Linked DNA regions of Homo sapiens: all the other regions are linked to region 3. Evidence: promoter capture Hi-C in 16 types of primary human blood cells and fetal thymus (Javierre and others, 2016). All regions are on one chromosome and are shown on one strand. The core of a region is centred on a gene start or on the middle of the fragment in contact, and the rest is flanking DNA. Distances in the headings are between cores, read along the strand shown. Region 1 overlaps RAB5B (RAB5B, member RAS oncogene family). Region 2 holds the start of LOC124902941 (a long non-coding RNA gene). Region 3 holds the start of CTDSP2 (CTD small phosphatase 2). Region 4 overlaps ATP5F1B (ATP synthase F1 subunit beta). Region 5 overlaps ERBB3 (erb-b2 receptor tyrosine kinase 3).

Evidence for each region. Contacts are between HindIII fragments. The CHiCAGO score rates a contact against its expected background, and 5 or more counts as called.
Region 1: a fragment that was not itself captured here is called in contact with the fragment with the promoter of CTDSP2 in region 3 in 1 of 17 cell types (M0 macrophages); the score reaches 6.3 in M0 macrophages.
Region 2: a fragment that was not itself captured here is called in contact with the fragment with the promoter of CTDSP2 in region 3 in 1 of 17 cell types (non-activated CD4 T cells); the score reaches 5.4 in non-activated CD4 T cells.
Region 4: a contact is called between a fragment that was not itself captured here and the fragment with the promoter of CTDSP2 in region 3, in 1 of 17 cell types (fetal thymus). The highest score is 6.5, in fetal thymus.
Region 5: a fragment that was not itself captured here is called in contact with the fragment with the promoter of CTDSP2 in region 3 in 1 of 17 cell types (monocytes); the score reaches 5.2 in monocytes.

The regions. Positions count from the first base shown.
Region 1 is chr12:55,982,948-55,985,647 of GRCh38, reverse strand. The region is part of intron 1 of RAB5B (RAB5B, member RAS oncogene family); the gene reads right to left. Among named protein-coding and RNA genes, the nearest start is that of RAB5B, 10 kb to the right of the region's middle. The HindIII fragment of the contact is 3,145 bases long and covers 1-2,700 here.
Region 2 is chr12:55,921,468-55,924,167 of GRCh38, reverse strand. The region is part of intron 1 of PYM1 (PYM1 exon junction complex associated factor); the gene reads left to right. LOC124902941 (a long non-coding RNA gene) reads left to right here and starts at 397. Exons shown (of 2, transcript XR_007063325.1): 1 at 397-727. The HindIII fragment of the contact is 7,726 bases long and covers 1-2,700 here.
Region 3 is chr12:57,845,285-57,847,984 of GRCh38, reverse strand. CTDSP2 (CTD small phosphatase 2) reads left to right here and starts at 1,256. Exons shown (of 8, transcript NM_005730.4): 1 at 1,256-1,613. The coding sequence starts at 1,550. RefSeq lists silencers at 775-954, 1,025-1,104, 1,115-1,544, 2,135-2,434. The HindIII fragment of the contact is 5,566 bases long and covers 1-2,700 here.
Region 4 is chr12:56,636,144-56,638,843 of GRCh38, reverse strand. It overlaps ATP5F1B (ATP synthase F1 subunit beta), which reads left to right. Exons shown (of 10, transcript NM_001686.4): 10 at 421-669. The coding sequence ends at 521. It also overlaps a transcript of BAZ2A not described here. Among named protein-coding and RNA genes, the nearest start is that of SNORD59B, 6.3 kb to the left of the region's middle. RefSeq lists enhancers at 1,665-1,959, 1,452-1,963, 1,937-2,106. The HindIII fragment of the contact is 1,353 bases long and covers 574-1,926 here.
Region 5 is chr12:56,083,023-56,085,722 of GRCh38, reverse strand. It overlaps ERBB3 (erb-b2 receptor tyrosine kinase 3), which reads right to left. Exons shown (of 28, transcript NM_001982.4): 2 at 1,821-1,972; 3 at 542-728. Among named protein-coding and RNA genes, the nearest start is that of ERBB3, 4.2 kb to the right of the region's middle. The HindIII fragment of the contact is 4,298 bases long and covers 1-2,700 here.

The DNA of each region.
Region 1 (2,700 bases), core at 134-2,633, 1.9 Mb after region 3:
AATACACTGAATCAGCTCCTCTATCTTCTAAGAGGGCTAAGAAAGCTGCTGGTGGGGCAGGGAACAGAGAGAAGAGTTGGGACTTTGAGATTCTAATCGTCTAAATCTGAATACATTTCATCATCCTGACTCTGAGCGGAAAGGAACTATGAAATTCAAAGGGAAGTTAGCATAGGCAGAGCATGCAAAAACCTCTCTCCCAAACCTAAGCATTGCTTGAGAGTTGTACTTTGCTTGTTCAAATTACTCTTTCGCTTTTCCAAAGCAGATCCTAGTGACTTCACAGACATCATACTCTATGGCATATGTGGGGAAACATCATTATTTTGTCACCACAATTAGTGGGACTGGAGTTAAACTGGGGTTAAAAATTTTCAGTAACCCCACTTACTAGATCGTAAAGACAGAAAATCATACAGGAGGCAATTCAGAGGAATAAAGGCTCTGGAGTCCAATTCTCCACGTTTGTTTTTCAGCTCTACTTACTAGCTATGAACCTTGAGCAAGTCACTAAATATATGTGTGCATTCATTTCCTCATCTGTAAAATGAGATAATAGCCTTATAAGCACCTACTTCATAAGGGTGTTGTAAGGATTAAATGAGATAATGCATATAAATAACTAAAGTATTTTAAGTATTTGATAGATACTAAGTGCTAAATAAATATTAAGCTACTAATCATTACTAATATGATATAAAGAGAATTTCTCTACCTCTCTAAGCCTTACCTTCTACCTTTGTAAAATGGAAAAAATACCATCCTCATAGCTACAAATAATAAGTGAAAGATGTGTTTAGCATAGTGCTAATAGCTATTAAAATATATCTCAATATTAGTTGTTATCAATATATTCCTAAAAAGCAGCCACAGCCTGGGTGCAGTAGCTCATACCTATAATCCCAGCACTTTGGGAGGCTGAGGTGGATCACCTGAGGTCAGAAGTTCGAGCCCTGCCTGGCCAACATGGTGAAACCCCGTCTCCACTAAAAATACAAAAAAAATTAGCTGGGTGTGGTGGTGCATACCTGTAATCCCAGCTACTCCAGAGGCTGAGGCAGGAGAATCGCTTAAACCCAGAAGGTAGAGGGTGCACTGAGCTGATGCGCCACTGTGCTCCAGCCTGGGTGACAGAGCGAGACTCCGTCTCAAAAAATAAAAGGCGGGCACAGTGGCTCACGCCTGTAATCCCAGCACTTTGGGAGGCAAAGGCAGGCAGATCAGGAGGTCAGGAGTTTGAGACAAGCCTGGCAAACATGGTGAAACCCCGTCTCTACTAAAAATACAAAAATTAGCTGGGCGTGGTGGCGCGTGCCTGTAGTCCCAGCTACTTGGGAGGTTGAGGCAGGTGAACTGCTTGAACTTGTGAGGTGGAGGTTGCAGTGAGCTGAGATTGCACCACTGTACTCCAGCCTGGCGACAGAGCAACAGCGAGACTCAGTCTAAAAAAAAAAAAAAAAAATTAGCCGGGTGTGGTTGGTGGCCGGCATTTGTAATCCTACTCGGGAGGCTGAGGCAGAACTGCTTAAACCCGGGAGGCGGAGGTTGCAGTGAGCCGAGATCGTGCCACCACACTCCAGCCTGGGTAACAGAGCAAGACTCCACCTGGGGTGGGTAGGGGGGAGATCGGGGGCAGGGAAGAAGCCACAATATGAAAGTGGTACAGAGAAAGAAAAAGAGAAAAAACAGGCCTGGCAGAGCGGCCCATGCCTGTAATCCCAGGGGTTTGGGAGATAAAAGGGGAAGCCTTGCTTGAGGTGAGGAGTTTGAGACCAGCCTAGGCAACATAGCGAGACTGAGTCTCTAGAAAACATTTAAAAAAATTAGCTGGGCATGGTGGTATGTGCCTGTAATCCCAGCTACTCCAGAGGCTGTGGTGGGAGAATCACTGGAGCCCAGGAGTTGAAGGTTGTAGTGAGCTGATTACACCACTGCACTCCAGCCTGGGCGACAGAACAAGACGCTATCTCTGGAAAAAAAAAAAAAAAAAAAAGGAGACATAACTAAAGGGTAAAGAGGAAGTTAGCAAAAGAATGAGAGGTGAGAACTCAAGGTCCCAAAGTAGACTAGATTAATACAGAGGAACATGACAATTACTTTGATTCTACTGGGTATTCTGTAGTCCCCTTGGTCAGTCAGTCTTAAAAATTCAGATATACATGTACCATTTTATGATTAAGTTTTCAATGGCCTATGACGAAAGGATCAAAATAAAGATGATACAGCAAATTTTTCATAAAGCTAAATTTATTCAATTTAAATGAGTATCTTTAATTATAACATTTTAAAATTTATTTTCCATTTTTAGAGAGAGTCTCACTCTGGTGTTTGAGAGGTCAGGAGTTTGAGACCAGCCTGGCCAACATATAGTGAAACCCCGTCTCTACTAAAAAATACAAAAATTAGCTGGGTGTAGCGCCACATGCCTGTAGTCCCAGCTACTTGGGAAGCTGAGGCAGGAGAATCGCTTGAACCCAGAGGGCGGAGGTTGCAGTGAGCTGAGATTATGCCACTGTACTCCAGCCTGGGCAACAGAGCAAGACTCCGTCTCTCAAAATAAAAAATAAATAAAAGAGAAGACAGGTGACACCATAATAAAAAAAAAAGGACAGATGATAAGCTGATCAAGTTTCCTTCAGGTGACATATATATGCTATACTCTCAAGAAACAATAGAAAAAGTTACTGGTTTTTTCAACTT
Region 2 (2,700 bases), core at 137-2,636, 1.9 Mb after region 3:
TCAGTTTTTCCATCACTATTTCTGTTAAAGGCACCATTATTCTAGCCAACCCAAGGTAAACTTTTGTATCGTTTCTTTTTTTTTTTTTCTTTGAGACAGAGTCTCACTCTGTCGCCCAGGCTGGAGTGCAGTAGCGCGATCTCGGCTCACTGCAACCTCCGCCTCCCTGGTTCAAGTGATTCTTCTGCCTCAGCCTCCTGAGTAGCTGGGATTACAGGCACATGTCACCACGCTTGGCTAATTTTTGTATTGTTAGTAGAGACAGGGTTTCATCATATTGGTCAGGTTGGCCTCGAACTCCTGACCTCGTGATCTGCCAGCCTTGGCCTCCCAAAGTGCTGGGATTACAGGCATGAGTCACCACGCCTAGCCATTTCTTTTTTTAATATTCTAAATATACTTGATTTTTTAGAACACTTTTAGATTTATAGAAAAATTGAGAAGATGCTACAGAGATTTCCCATATACCCTACACTCAGTTTCCCCATTACTGTCATCTTACGTTAATATAGTACTTTGCTTGCAATTAATGAAGCAATATTGATATATTACTATTAACTAGAATCCATACATCATTTCATTAGTTTTGTTTTTTTTTTTTTTCAGACAGGGTCTTGCTCTGTCACCCAGGCTGGAGTGCAGTGGTGCAATCACCATTTACTGTAGTCTTAACTTCTGGGCTCAAGTGATCCTCACATCTCAACCTACTGAGTAGCTGGGACTACAGGTACACACCACCACGCCTGGCTAATTTTTGTATTTTTTGTAGAAATGCGGTCTTGCTCTGTTGCCCAGTCTGATCTCAAATTCCTGGGCTCAAGCAATCCTCACGCCCTGGCCTCCCAAAGTGCTAGAATTACAGGTGTGAACCACCATGCCTGGCTGATTTCCTTAGTTTTTACTTAATTTATTTTTATATTTATTTATTTATTACTATTTTTTTGAGACGGAGTTCTGCTCTTGTTGCCCAGGCTGGAGTGCAATGGTGAGATCTCAGCTCACCGCAACCTCTGCCTCCCGGGTTCAAGTGATTCTCCTGCCTCAGCCTCCTGGGTAGCTGGGATTACAGGCATGTGCCACCATGCCCGGCTAATTTTGTATTTTTAGTAGAGATGGGTTTCTCCATGTTGGTCAGGTTGGTCTCAAACTCCTGACCTCGGGTGATCTGCCCACCTCGGCCTCCCAAAGTGCTGGGATTACAGGTGTGAGCCACTGCGCCCAGCCTTTTTACCTAATTTTTTTTTGTTGTTCCAGGATCTTATCCAGGGTACTACATAACATTTAGTTCTCATGTCTCTTTAAGCTCCTCTTGGCTGTGACATTTTCTCAGGCTTTCCTTGTTTTCCATGACCTTGAGTTTTGAGGAGTACTGGTCAGGTATTTTGTAGGATATCCTTCTATTGGAATTTGTCTGATGTATTTCTCATGATTAGATTTGGGTTATGTGTTTTGGGGAGGAAGACCACAGAGGTAAAGTGACATTTTCATCACATTGTATCAGGGTACATAGTATCACAATGATTTTTTACTGTTAATATTTTTGTTTTTTTGAGACAGGGTCTTCCCTCTGTTGCCCAGACTGGAGTGCGGTGATGCCATCATGGCTCACTGAAATCTTGACCTCCCAGTCTCAATTGATCCTCCCACCTCAGCCTCCTGAGTATCTAGGACCACAGGCGTGTGCTATCATGACCAGCTAATTTTTTTTTTTTTTTTTTTTTTGGTAAAGATGGTCTCACTATGTTGCCTGGGCTGGTCTTGAACTCCTGAGCTCAAGGTATTGTTCCCCTTTGGCCTACCAAAATTCTGGGATTACTAGGCATGAGTCACTATGCCCAGCCTGTTAGTATTGACCGTGATCATCTGGCAGAGATATTGTTTGTAAGGCTTCACTGTAAAGTTAGGCTTTACCCCCTTCCTTTCCATACTGTAGGGAAGTCACTATTGCCAGCCCACGCATAAGGAGTAGAGAGTTGTGCTCTCCTTAAAAAAAGAGATTAAGGGCTGGGCATGGTGGCATATGCCTGTAATCCCAGCACTTTGGGAGGCTGAGGCTGGAGGATTGCTTGAGGCCATCCTAAGCAACATAGCAAGACCTCTTATCTACAAAAAGATTTAAAAAAAAAACGAGCTGGGTAAGGTGGCACACACCTGTGGTCCCAGCTACTCAGGGAGCCTCAGAGGGGAAGATTGAGCCAGGGAGGCTGAGGCTGCATTGAGCCGTGATTGTGCCACTGTACTCCATCCTCAGTGAGAGGCTGTCTCAAAAAACAATTAAAAAAACACACTATTTGGCATTTTTCTGCCCAGGAGATTTTTTTCTTTTCCTTTATTAATTTATGTATATCAATATGGACTTATAGATGTGTATTTTATATGTTAGGTTATAATCCAATACTATTTTATTTGCTTTATTGCTCAAATGTTCCAGTTTTGAACATTGGGAACTCTTTTAGTTTTTTACTTGGCCCATCTCCCTTTGACATTTGCCATCATTGCAGGTATGATTTTGTTCTCTGCTCCAGTCCTGCGGTCTGCCATTTCTCCAAGAAGCCCTTGTTCTTTTTACTAAAGAGTAATGTTAAAAACTAAGATCTGATCACTAGGTGTTTTTATTTCTATGGGAGTATTTTTTTTTATTTATGGGAGTTTTATTTTTTTATGATTATTTTTATTATCATCTTTTACTTCTCTCTTGCC
Region 3 (2,700 bases), core at 7-2,506:
TCCGAGAGACCTCCATCCATCTAAAGGAAGCTGGGACTGTGGGGGCAAAAAGAGAGGGGTAGGATGAGGGAGGTAGGGAGGAGGGGCGGAGTCGGGGCCGCCTAAATGGGAGTAAGTCGGTGGGTGTGAGGAAAGCCCAGCACCTCAGGTCTCATTTTCAGTGTTTTGGGGGACACAGTCCCGAGGTCAGTTCCAGCTCTTATACTCTGGAGTCCTAGGTCCGCCCACACGCACACACCCCTTTCGGGATTCGAAGGTTGTACTTTTTTTTTTTTTTTTTTGAGACAGAGTCTCGCTCTGTCGCCCAGGCTGGAGTGCAGTGGCGCGATCTCGGCTACCTGCAATCTCCGCCTCCCGGGTTCAAGCAAGTCTTTGCCTCAGCCTCCCGAGTAGCTGGGATTACAGGCGCCCGCCACCACGCCCGGCTAATTTTTTTGTATTTTTAGTAGAGACGGGGTTTCACCATCTTGGCCAGGCTGGTCTTGAACTCCTGACCTCGTGATCCACCCACCTCGGCCTTCCAAAGTGCTGGGATTACAGGCGTGAGCCACCGCGCCTGGCCTCGACGGTTGTACTTTTATGTGACTTGGTACGTCCTTGATTCTAGGGCTAAGCAGGGGGGTAAGGTAACTTCCGATCCGCCCCATCCCCTGCTGGAGTCAGGTTAGGCTTAGCGGCTTGTCTTGGTCACCCCTGAAGGGGGAAACCTTTCCACCTTCCCCGAGTGCGCCCTCCGAGAAAAGAACACCCCAGCACAGAGCACCAGAACGTGAGCTTCGGAGCGGCCTTTTAAATAGTTGGGAAGGGGGTGTGGCCGAGGAGACTGGGAGGCCGCAGTCTGGCGCGGGGGGAGTGGCCCGGGGGCGTGGCCGTGGCGCCTGGAATGTTGTTAGGTCCTCTCACCGCATAGTAAGGAGGGGCCACGCCCCTTTTCTCCAAGAGAGCCAATCGGAGCACCGGAACGGTTTCAAGTCTCCCCCGCCAGCCTGCCCGCCCGCCACCCCACCCCCCTTGAGGATTCGCTTTTTCCGTAACAAAATAGCAAAGCTCCCGACTGTCCGCAGCCCCGGCCGCTCACAGATGGAGGGTCCCAGGGCCTAGGACGCAGCCCCCAGCGGGAAGCTCCAGCTGGCCGTGAAGAGGCCGAGTCGAGAGCCGGGAGGCGCGCGGGGGTGGGCGCTGCAGCCGCGGGTTGTTTATCTGGAGTACGGAGGGGAGGGGGGAGCCTGGAAACCGCCCCGTGTCCCATTTCCTCCTCTTGTTTTCGCTCCGGATTCTCCATGTTGGACCCAAACTGAGGAGCCCGGAGCTGCCGCTGGGGGATCGGGGCCGGGGGCACCCGGGGGAGCCGCTGCCCGGGCCGCCCGCCCTTTGTACAGGCCGCCTCCCTTCCCGGTCCGGGGAGGAAACGAGAGGGGGGATGTGAACAGCTGTGGAAGTCGGAGTCTCGGGAGCCGGAGCGGGCCCCCGCCCAGGCCCCCCAGCCCAGCCCAGCCCGCGCGCCCGCCCGTCCTCCCGCCCAGCCAGCCCGGGCCCGCGGGATTGTTAGATGGAACACGGCTCCATCATCACCCAGGCGCGGAGGGAAGACGCCCTGGTGCTCACCAAGCAAGGTAGGGGCAGCAACTTCCCAAAACTTTGCGTCGCCCCCGGGCGCGGAGGGGGCTAGCACAGCCCCGAACCCAGGTCTCGGCCCTTGACCTCCAGGGCTTAGAGCCAGCGATCCCGACTGGACCCCTCCGGTCCATCCGCCCCCGCATCCCGGCTGGCACTCAGACCTCCGTGGGGGTTGCACGGGGATCCCGGCGCCCGAGCGGAAAGGGCGTCTTCGGCGCAGCTGTCACCCTGTCCCGCAACCCCTCCCCCTCGGGGCTGAGAGACGGAGGGGTAGCTCTCGAAGCACTGGGCCACTCCGCGTCCACCGCCTCCGGAGTTGGGGGTGGGGTCGTCACTTTCCTTCACCGCCGCGCGCGGCTGCCCCGGGATCGCGGGGAGGGGTTAGGAAGGTGACAGAGGGAGCCCCAGGTGGAACGGAACCGAGACTGGAGTCCAGCACTTGCAGGCCCCCCCAAGCCCGAGGTCGTTCGGGCAGCTAGCTGGCGGTGACGGCGTCCGGCGGGACTTGGGACCAAGTTCACCTCTTGGAGGCGGGGGCGGTCGCGGTGGGGGAGGGGCCCGGGCCCTGGCGCACCAGACGTGGCGGGTTCCCGGCTCAGCGCAGGCCCCGGGACCTTGGCGGCGTCGGGCTCCCTCCCGGCTGCCTCTGACCAGTTTCGCTGAGCAAACAAGCCCGACCCTGAGGCCCGGCCAGAGCCCCTCCCTGCCCGGTGCGCTCCCCCGGGGCCGGCGCTGCACACACAGAGCCGCGTTTGTTTAGCCCGGGAGCGGTGTCCCTGGTTACATAATTCGCCGGATGGCATCAGACCCGGCGTGGTTCTGAATCGCGCAGCGAAAAAGTGCGAGTTCTCTGTGGGCAGCGGCTGGCGGCCCCCGCCTTCCAGAGCGTCAGGTGGAGGCGCGAGGGGGCCCGCAGGCCCTCGCGGGGGTGAGGCGGAGGCCGAGGCCTCTCCCGGGGCGGGAGAAAGCTGGGGCCCGAGGGTGGAACCTCTTAGTTTGGTCACAGTGGGAGACTCGAAACTCTTTCCCCCTCCGCCACGTTCTTCTTTTGGCCTTGAGGAATGTGTCCAAAATAGCGGCAGA
Region 4 (2,700 bases), core at 1-2,500, 1.2 Mb after region 3:
GCTCACTGCAACCTCCACCTGCCGGGTTCAAGTGATTCTCCAGCCTCAACCATCCAAGTAGCTGGGATTACAGGCACACGCCACCACGCCTGGCTAATTTTTGTATTTTTAGTAGCCATGGGGTTTCACCATGTTGGCTGGGCTTGTCTCGAACTCCTGACCTTAGGTGATCCGCCTGCCTTGGCCTCCCAAAGTGCTGGGATTACAGGTGTAAGCCACCGTGCCTGGCCCATGTGTTCTTAATTCATACTGTATCATATCTTGTAAATTTGATTTGTGAGGGAAATTTAAGCTTTCTAAGATGACATGAATTCATCACATTCTAACTGATGGCCTGAAGTGGTGAGGAATGTTACATGATGCAGAAAGTTGATATCCCTCCGCTTCTTACTCTTTTTTTTTTTCTCCCCCATCATACAGGTGAATATGACCATCTCCCAGAACAGGCCTTCTATATGGTGGGACCCATTGAAGAAGCTGTGGCAAAAGCTGATAAGCTGGCTGAAGAGCATTCATCGTGAGGGGTCTTTGTCCTCTGTACTGTCTCTCTCCTTGCCCCTAACCCAAAAAGCTTCATTTTTCTGTGTAGGCTGCACAAGAGCCTTGATTGAAGATATATTCTTTCTGAACAGTATTTAAGGTTTCCAATAAAATGTACACCCCTCAGAATTTGTCTGATTCTCTTGGTTCTGACAACATAGTCAACACTGAAGGGTTATGTATTTAATTTTAGTTTTAGAGACACGGTGTCTGGCTGTGTTGCCAAGACTGGTCTCTAACTCCTGGGCTCGAGATCTCCCACCTCAGTCTCCTGAGTAGCTGGGGCTACAGGTGTATGTAGTCTCACATCACCAGCACTGTTTTCAACAATTAGATTTTTAGAGTGGCTATAAGAAGCAGTTTCAGCATGAAGTGGGCCATGTATGTTTGAAATTGGTCCTTAAAAATAGCCATTCTCTTTTGTTGATGGACAACCGTACCTCTTGTGAGGGGTTTCCTGTGGGTAGTGTGATCTTAGTAGGGCCTCAGTTTTGGGCCTTTTGTTCAATACAAATTGATTTTTTTTTTTTTTTGGCCTCTATTCCATGTGGCACATCCCTACTTCTTGGTTAAAAATAGGACTTTTTTGAAGGGCATATTGGGAAAAACTCGTTTTAGAAATAACTTATTTCCAGGGGTTAATCTGAGTTTAATGAATTAAATTTTCAAGAAATAGTGATGAAGAATACTGATCTTTGTTAAAATGGAATCAAAAGGGTTCTCTACATCTTGGTTAGGCCTTCATGTCTTCAGAAAGTGTACTTAACTACTTCCTGACATTTTGGGCAAGCCTAAATAAAAGTTGCTTGTGATTCCTTGAGGCTATGCAGAGGCATATAATACCATAAGGCCTAGTCCACCCTCTGTGAAGATCCCCTTATGAAAGTCCAGAAAAGATAATCTTACAAGGGAATAGCAATTTTCAGAGTTGCTGGCTTGGGCTTCTAAACTAATGAAGTTAGGTTATTTTCCCTTCATTTTAGCCGACTGAGAGGTGCAGGGGTAGAAGATATATTTTACCATTTCAATTTAAAAGAAGCGTGCAAGGTCAGATTGGGTTCCTCTTGTGTTCTTTTCCGGGACCAGACCCATCCGACTGCCCTCTCGCGGTAGCACTGGAGACTCTGCAAGAACTCTGATCCCATTTTCAAATCCATGAAGGCCATTTGCTGGGATGTGGCTCTCAGTTAAAGACTGTTTACAGACCAGCTGGGGCTTTTGTCCTGGGGAGGAGCCTGTATCTATAAGCTCCACCCGCTGAGTCCATCAAGTTAGGTAGAAGCTGGGCGGGGACAAGCTGAGCTCCAATTCAGAGGCCCCTGGGGGCTGAAGGTTGGGGAGGGCTTTTTGGCGCGGGGCCAGGGGTGGAGTAGGGGCCTCTAAGCTTCCTTCCATCTGCCTGTGACGTCCTTGGCAGCAGCCTCTCCCGCAGTCTCTCCTGTGTCATGATCTGGACAGAAGGTGGAGCCCCTGAGCTGCTTGTGCTGGTAGTTTGCTCCCAGAAAAGCTGGGATTTGGGGAAATGCTGAGTTATGGGGGTGTGGACACTTCCTCTAGGTCCTGACTCTGGAGTGGGTAAGAAGCTGGTAGAAAAAGCCCTAGGGTACAGGTCAGCCCTTTCTGCTTTGTTTTCTCACGTCACCCGATACAGACCTGGGAACTGAAATCCTAAAGGTCTTTTGCATCCCTCCACCCCTTCCCCCAACATGTTCACGTCCTTCAGCGTTTATCGAGAACCTTCTCCCTCTCAGTAGCTGCAACTATTTGTTTCCTTCCCCCTTTGCCGGCCTCTTCTACCATGCCACTGGAGTGTCAACACAGCTCTCTAACCTTCCTCCATATTTCTCCTGGTCTGCCCTGTCCTCGCCTCCTCCCTCTCTCCACCCAGAGAAAGCCCCGCCCTTCCCTCCTCCCTCCCCACCCCAGTCTGTCACACAGGGACATCACCCTACAGCAGTTCAGGCTGTGTGGTTCGCAGGAAGCATACACTGGCTTTTTGATTCTTGCTAGTTCCCAGCTCACAGTTTGGGAGGATCCAACACCAACCTTTACGTGAAGTGGAGGCCCAAGGACAGTGAGGAGCTGGGTGGTCCCAGCCTGGAGCTGTGCCAGCCTGACATGGGTGAGTATGGGGACCAGCCCCGGGGAAGGCCTGAGGGA
Region 5 (2,700 bases), core at 53-2,552, 1.8 Mb after region 3:
GTGCAATCTCAGCTCACTGCAACCTCCACCTCCCAGGTTCAAGCGAGTCTCCTGCCTCAGCCTCATGAACAGCTGGGATTACAGGTGCGCACCACTATAGCCAGCTAATTTTTTATTTTATTTTATTTTTTTGTATTTTTAGTAGAGACAGGGTTTCGCCATGTTGGCCAGGCTGGTCTCAAACTCCTGATCTCAAGTGATCTGCCCTCCTTGGCCTCCCAAAATGCTGGGATTACAGGTGTAAGCCATCAGGCCTGGCCTCCGGTACACTGTACTTTGAAATTAGAAAAACGGTTAACAGATCCAGCTCTGACTCCAGCCCCACAAGGACACAGGGTTCCTTTCCCTGGAGCAGATGCCCCTAGCTCCCCCTACTGGGGGCCCTCTATTGCTTAGGGAGCAATGGACCTTTAGACAGCGGCCAAGGTGACAGGCACCTTGGAAGAGGCACTTAGAGTGAGCAGTCTTGGGTCATCATCAAGGAGGTACCAGTCTTGGGCTGGCTGAGGGGTGAGGCCAGAAGGAACCATCGGGAACTGACCGGTGAGCTGAGTCAAGCGGAGCTGGCGCAGAGCGTGGCTGGAGTTGGTGTTATAGTTCAACATGACGAAGATGGCAAACTTCCCATCGTAGACCTGGGTCCCTCGCACCACGCGGAGGTTGGGCAATGGTAGAGTAGAGAATTCATTCATGGCCACGAGGACATAGCCTGTCACTTCTCGAATCCACTGTGACAGAGCAGATTATGTAAATGAGAGAGACAACAGGGCAAAATAATCTCAATCTCCTCTCCTCCTTCAGGCATTAAAGACTCTTTAACTGTTTTAATTCTTCCTTCTTTCTTTCCTTTCTTTTTTTCTTTTTTTTAAAATTTGAGACGGAGTTACGCTCTTGTTGCCCAGGCTGGAGTACAATAGTGCGATCTTGGCTCACCACAACCTCCACCTCCCGGGTTCAAGCAATTCTCCTGCCGCAGCCTCCCAAGTAGCTGGGATTACAGGCATGTGCCACTACACCTGGCTAATTTTGTATTTTTAGTAGAGATGTGGTTTTTCCATGTTGGTCAGGCTGGTCTCGAACTCCTGACCTCAGGTGATCCGAGCTTGGCCTTTTTTTTTTTTTTTGGTGAGACAGGGTCTCGCTCTGTTACGAGTGGCACAATCTCGCTCACTGCAGCGTCAAACTCCTGGGCTCAAGCAATCCTCCCACCTCAGCCCTCCAAGTAGCTGGGACTACAGGTGCATGCCACCATACCCAGCTAATTTTTGTATTTTTGTAGAGACAGCGTTTCACCACATTGCCCAGGCTGGTCTTGAACTCCTGACCTCAAGTGATCTGCCTTCCTTGGCCTCCCAAAGTGCTGGGATTACAGGCATGAGCCACTGCACCTGGCCTTAACTCTTGCTAATTCCTATTTGGGAGTAGGGAGTAGACTGTGTCACACTGCTGTGTCACTTCTGGGAGTGAAGACAGGCAGCTTTCTCCTCAAAGTGCCTCATACCAGTAGGGCCCCTTCCTCATCTCCCCAGGTAACCTCTTGGTCCTCAGGTTTCTCTCTGCACTAGTCCCTGCTGACCTTGCACTATCCACAGAACACCACCTGCCCCTGACCCTGCCCCCTATATATCCCTGGCTACAACAGTGAGACCATAGGTCCCAGATGACAGCCACTGTCCCCATAAATACACGGTTTTGAATCTTAGGAACTCCTGAGTCTTAGGAAGGGTGAACTCCAGCAGAAGGTAGCCCTGAAGAAGGAAGGAGGGTTCTAGGGGAGAATAAAGAGGAGCAGGTTGAGGAAGGAGGGTGGGCTCACTAACCTGCAGGAAGGAGAGGTCGGCATTGTGTCCCGTGAGCACAATCTCAAGGTTCCCCATCACCACCTCACACCTCTCGTAGAGCTTGTACAGTGTCTGGTATTGGTTCTCAGCATCGCCGGTCACACTCAGGCCATTCAGAGTCCCAGGACACACTGTTCAAAGCAGAGGGAAGAGTGGCTGAGGGCTGGACACAAATTCTCAGCCCATCTGCCATCCCCAAAGATCACCCCCTTGGTTGCCCTCTTCCAGTTACATTAGACAGGATCAGATGGCATTTGCCTCCAACCCTCCCACAAGCGATAGGCAGAAGCTGTAGTGGCCTGAGAGCTTTCTCTCTTCTCAGAATCCCCTTACCATTCCATGAATGGGAAGGTGAAAAGATTTCCTTTTTCAACCTGGGACCCCTCTGTGCTTCTTTTGGGTACTAAGGGGTTAACTGAGAAGGAAGACAGGGAATTTGTTTCTCTCCCTAGAAAAGAGAAGTTAGGAAAAGGCCGCAACTTTGATTACCCTCCTCTCCCCCTCCAACTAGGGCACTCACTTCTCTACCCTCATCCTGCCTCTCTCTAGGTCCTGGAATAAATATCTCTTTGGGACTAGTACACAGCCCCTATTGTGTCTACTGAGGGTGGGATGGGGGCAGAGGGTGGGGGCAGTGCCTGGGGCCACAGTCCAGCCCACAATGAGGCGATTCTATCCAGGAGGGGGGCTGCCCCACCCTGTCCCTAGACACCCCGTCCTCAGCAGCACTCCCCTCCACCCTCAAGCCTTGGGCTCAGACAAGTGACCTCAGTAGAGGGGGGAGCTCTGGCAGTGCTGGGGTGAGGGGGGGTCAATGGGAGCTTTGTCTTTAAAGCTGAAAGATAAGGAGCTAGTTGCC